2 separate regions of the Homo sapiens genome follow, and region 2 is linked to region 1. The links are contacts of gene promoters, found by promoter capture Hi-C in human tissues and cell types (Jung and others, 2019). All regions are on one chromosome and are shown on one strand. The core of a region is centred on a gene start or on the middle of the fragment in contact, and the rest is flanking DNA. Distances in the headings are between cores, read along the strand shown. Region 1 holds the start of CHI3L1 (chitinase 3 like 1). Region 2 overlaps ADORA1 (adenosine A1 receptor).

What was found. Contacts are between HindIII fragments. The study calls those that stand out against the background at their distance.
Region 2: a contact is called between a fragment that was not itself captured here and the fragment with the promoter of CHI3L1 in region 1, in 1 of the 25 tissues and cell types used here (liver).

The regions. Positions count from the first base shown.
Region 1 is chr1:203,185,416-203,188,198 of GRCh38, forward strand. It overlaps CHI3L1 (chitinase 3 like 1), which reads right to left and starts at 1,289. Exons shown (of 10, transcript NM_001276.4): 1 at 1,184-1,289; 2 at 901-930. The coding sequence starts at 1,208. The HindIII fragment of the contact is 13,862 bases long and covers 1-2,783 here.
Region 2 is chr1:203,148,512-203,151,211 of GRCh38, forward strand. All of the region lies in intron 3 of ADORA1 (adenosine A1 receptor), which reads left to right. Among named protein-coding and RNA genes, the nearest start is that of ADORA1, 22 kb to the left of the region's middle. The HindIII fragment of the contact is 9,638 bases long and covers 1-2,700 here.

The sequences.
Region 1 (2,783 bases), core at 39-2,538:
CCAGGATTCGGCAAGAGACCTCAGGCTGAGCCCAGAGCTGAGCACCAATGGGGTGTGGGGTTGGGTAGGGAGGAGTGGGGTGCAGATTGTGAGCAAAGTCAGAATTCTTAAATGAAAGGAGCTGGTTCAGGTCCCCCTGCCTCTGGGGAGTTCCCTGACTGGTGAAAATAAGGCCTATTCTGAAAATGCTTAGAAAAGATCCAATGCAGGGGATGAATACGCTACAGGCACTGTGTGGGGGAAGGGTAGGAGCTGGGGAATAAGGATGAAATGGGACTTGGTGCCAGCACAGCAGGCTTCCTGGAAGCAGTGGCTTTGTGGGAGGGGAAGGCCCAAGATAGCCTGTGTCACAGATGGCCCTGGCTTTCAGGCTGGCACCTTTAGTGACCTGCAGTGAGGTCCTTCATCCATGAGGGACTCTGGCCCACCTTTCTCTGCCTCCTGGTGAGAGTGCCTCTAACTTGTAACCCACCCGGAATGGCAGTCCTGTGCTCCCTCGGCATGTCCCCCAGGCTGGGGCACAATATCACAATGGACCAGGAAATCCTTCCTCGCCTCTAATTCTGTTTCTCCTGCTGCAAACAATGTGGGCATCACTCATCCAAGCAGCTACTGGGCAACTGTACTAGCGGCTCCCAGGGGCTGTTAGTCAAAGCCTTCACTGAACCAGGACCTTTTAAAGTTTCTTATTTTGAGAATTTTCACATATACCAAAGAGTATAGCAAAATAAACATCCATATACTCCTCACTCCAGTTTAGCAAACGTGACTATTTCGAAGTCATTGGAAGCACAGAAGAACCTGGCAAAGTGTTCCCTTGGAGCTAAGACCTCCTCCACACCTGCCCTGTGCCCTCGCCACGCCTCTGGACTTAAAAGTGGAGGTGGAGGGATTACTCACAGCACTGGAGCAGCACCAGGACCACAAAGCCTGAAGAGAAATCCAGGATGAGACCCCTGCAAGTGCATCCTGCCCTTCCGCCCTGCTCCCTCCCCCAAGCAACTGAGACCCACCTCCCCCACCCCCACCTCCTGGTTGCAGCCTCAGTCCCTCCCCTGGCTCTGCTTCTCCTCCCCCTCTGCCCACTCCCTTAGTCCCTCACCCAGCAGGCAGATGGCTCTGCGGGCTGTCTGGGCCTGAAAACCCACAACTCTGATGGATTAACCTTGGCTAGCCCAGATACCTGTTTGAGACGCCTTCACACCCATTCTGGCTGCAGCAGAGCAGGGCAGGGTGTGGCCTCTTCCCTTGCCCACGGCTCCTGGTGCCAGCTACCTAGACAGGGCCTCTTCCCCAGGCCCTGTACTTCCTTTATATACCTGTCCCACTCCACTCCCCGACGCGGCAAACCAGCCCTTTTATGGGAACTGAGCTATGTGTCAATGAAGGAATCACGAGGCTGGCAAGTGGAGGCGGGGGAGTACTATGGATTACCAGAGGAGGGTTGAGAAACCGCAGAGTTTTGAAAACTTTGGGTCAGGTCTTCATGAGGCACCTGCCAGCAGAAGAGCCACTAGGGTGATGATGGGGGGCTTCTGGAGATGTGACTCAGCCGCATTTCCCAGCCTTCCTCCCACTCCTGCACCCCACCACTGGCCTTTCTTGCCAGCAATTTCCTGGCTTTTCTGGCAGCCTCTACCTTTGCATCTTCAGCATTCACTCCAGGCCCCTGGCCAGGTGGAAACTGGGCACAATTTAGTTACGTAAGCCACAGTGCCCTAAACAAGGCTGTTGTTTTCTTCCCAGGCTCAGCATTGCCCTGCTTGACCTACCTTCCTACCCTCCCCCTCACACTTTCTGTCTTCAGGCTGGGTAAGGGCCAGAGAGCCTCGGGAGGAAGGAAAGCAAAGAGCCTGAAACTGAGCGCTCCCTTTTGGGCCCGTGTCTTTTTTTTTTTTTTTTTTTTTTTTTTTGCAATTTACATGCTGATTATTTAGAGGGAAAGACAGGGAAATTCCCAAGAATGCTTTAAGCCCCGGTGCTATTTTGCTTCTGTTTTGAAATTCCCATAAAGAGAGAGGATCTTTTGCAAGCTCGGTGCTGCAGTGAGGCACCATGGAGGAAATACAGGCCCTACGGGGCGGCTGCACGAGCATCTGACATCAGTCAGCTCCCCAACTCTCTCAGTGAGGCTTTGGAACCCAAGCCTGATGATACAGCCCCTCTCTAAATCCTTCAGTGATCTCTCATCACTCCTAGGACAAGAACAAAACTTCTTAACGAGGCTCCCTGCCTGATTACGTCCCTGTTTGTGGATACATTTTTTTTTTGGCCAAATATCCAGGACAACTCCATTCTTTGCAGGCTTAACATTAATTAATAGGCAGTGAGTGAAAAGTTCAGAACTCCAAGAGGCAGAATGGGTCCAAGGGCTTCTCAAGAAAGTACCTTTATTTTTCACTAATGTTAGGTAATACTCTAATTTTTCCAGGCTGGTTTTGCAGCTCTCTCGGTGAGGTCTCTCTGCTCTCTCCCTCTTCTCTCCCTCTCTCCCTTTCTCTTCCTTTAAAACTCAGCCAGTGCCTTCCCTTCATTGTAAGAGAGGTGGACAAAAAGTGGCTTGTCCAGAATCACGCTCGGTGAATACTAAAGAGGCATCACTTTTCCTTTTTAAGATGACTGCCTCCTTTTGTACCCAAGATGATTGACAGCAATGACAGTCAATGATAGCTTCTTCTGGTTCATTTGGGGCACTGAGAGGAGGACTTCTAATTTCTAATAGTGATATTATGAAGTGGCATGCAGATGCAAAATTTTTCATCACAGAGCACAGGATGTTAAGA
Region 2 (2,700 bases), core at 72-2,571, 37 kb before region 1:
TCCTCTAATGCTGTCACAGTGTTTTGCCTGTCACAGTGTTTTGTCACCCTGAGCCTTGGCCCCCCTAGCCAGCCAGTGTGCTCTATTGGAGACAGTGGGCACCAGCTGAGGAGGTTGGGAGGGGAGAGAGCAGTGTGGTTGGTCAGGCGTTTGTGGAATTGGAAGTTGGAGGCCCTGGGGTTGGACCTTCCAAATGTCCCAGACTGTCAGTGTTTCTATCAACTGGGTGAAGGAAGCCACTCTATGCCTGTTCCCCCACGTGCCCTCTGTGCCACTGCTCATGTGTCCGCCCCTCCCCTGGCTGCAGTGCATGTCCTACCCGATTCTTGCCTGGTGGCGTTCCCCAAGGCCCGTTACTACTGTCTCTCTGCATTTTTTTTTTTTAGACGGAGTTTTTGCTCCGTTGCCCCAGCTGGAGTGCAATGGCATGATTTCGGCTCACTGCAACCTCCGCCGCCCGGGTTCAAGCGATTCTCCTGCCTCAGCCTCCTGAGTAGCTGGGACTACAGGTGCATGCCACCAAGACTGGCTAATATTTGTATTTTTAGTAGAGACAGGGTTTCACCATGTTACCCAGGCTGGTCGCGAACTCTTGACCTCAGGTGGTCCACCCTCCTCAGCCTCCCAAAGTGCTGAGATTACAGGCGTGAGCTACTGTACCAGGCCTGCATTTTCTTTTTCCAGCTCTGAGCACAGCACCTGGAAGTTTCCATGAATGGTGGATGGAAAAAAAAGGCTTTGATTTGATAAGCTTCTTCCTCCCCCACACACATCATGAGTTTCCCCCATCCAGGGTTGTGGCAGAGCGGAGTGATTTATAGGACTTTGCAGAAGTGGAAGAAATGACGGAAATTGAGTTTATTGATCAACCCTCAGAGAAGCTGCCTGGCAGGCTCCTGGCCTGGGATACTGCCAGCAGCTAACATGCTGCTCTGTTTTACCCGTGCAAATGACAGGGGCACAGACCAGCTCCCAGAGGAGGAGGAGGACAGGCTGTTCCCCACCTCCACCCAGGCCGGGAGTTGAGGAGAGGGGCTGGTCTTGCAGTTGGAGGAAGTGTGTTAGACTCCTGTGAGAACCACCTAATTAAGTGGCTTGAGATATCGGGGCTGAGTGGTTGAGGCGGGACCTTCGAGTGGAGACCCTGAGCATTCTGTAGAAGGCCCCTCAGCTGTGACTGTTGGGAGCAGAGCTCTGCTGCCTGCCAGGGGGGATGTTGTTGTTGAGATGAGCAAGAAGGCTCAGAATGGCTTCCTCTTACCAGTTTCTCCTACTTTCTTCACATTTAAGGTGATTATTGCAATAGTTGGCTTAATCTCTGCCATGTTTATAACTGTTTTCTAGTCATTATATTTGTTTTCTTTTTTTTTTGCTTCTCTTTTTCTGCCTCTCTGGTTTTAATCGAGCATTTTATATGATTTCATTTCCTTCCCCAAATATTATTGAGTGCTTACTGTGTGCCAGGTACTGTGGTAGGTGCTAGGAAGATGATTTTGAACCAGACTTCGTCTTCGCCCTTCAGGTACTTGCAGTTATGTGCTCTGAGAGAAAAATAAAGAATTTTTCTGATTATCCCACATGGGGAAGGGAAGGGAAGGGAGCCAGCCACCAGATGATCTAGGAGACCTCACATTCCCACTTCCTGCTGCATGTTGTTCTGGGGAGGGGGATCTCTGGCTCACCTGCACCCACTGGGTGAGCCTGGGTGCTCCCCACCTCCCACTGCATCTGTATGTCTGGGCCCCTCCTCCACAAAGCCATCCCTGGAGCTGGGGCAGAAGCCCCTGAGCACATGCAGTGGAGCAGGAGGGCTGCAGCTGATGCTAAACTCTTCTGTGTGCTCTGCCCTGGCCTGGGTGGCTGCTGGCTGGGGAGGACTGGTTCCCGGATTGGGCCTGGCCTGTGGCTTCTGTAGGGACTCTGTACACTGTGGGCTTGGTGAGTGCTTATGTGGAGGGACACAGGGCAAAGAGAGCATCAGGAGATACCAGGAGGGTCAATGGAAAACTGCTGGGTCCTGGGGTCCTTCCTGCTGTTATTTGGGCTCTACACCCCTTTGCCTGGTTGCAAGGTGGGGAGAAAGGCCAGGATCGGGGAGAATATGACTGTACTTCTTCCAGGTCCCAAAAGTGGTGTCTTCTTGAGTTCTGATGCAGCAGGAAGAACTGAAGTTAGACTCTGGGAAGGACTTTCTAATGTGGAAGCACAAGCTGTGGAATGCGGAGCTGAGTGTGGGGGTGGACTCTTTCTTTGGAAAGATTTCCAAGGTGGTGAGCTCTTCCTGTCTTCTCTGTCCTCCCCCTATCTGCTGTCTGTTGAATCTTTTCCAGGGCAGGGGGCTAGGTGCTGTGAGCTTTAGGGGGCCCTGACAGCCCAAGCTCAGTGACAGCAGCTGCCTCCTCAGAGCACAGCATCCCAATCTCCCTGGCTCAAGAGGCACCTCCTCTTGTCACTCCAGACTGTCAGCAGGCATCCAACCTGCTTTCTAGGTCCCAACCCCAGCGGGTGCCTTTGGGCTGATCTCGAGTCTGCATGGGATCTCTCCAGTGGGGGTCGGATTTACAGTTCCTTGGTGGAAACAGGCCTTCAGGCAGATGCCCTGTACCCTGCAAGCGTTCAGGGTTCCAGGCAAGCCAAGAGATACTCTGAAGGGAGGTGGGAGGAAAGGCGTGGGCTCACCCTGAGTCCGCCTCCCATATC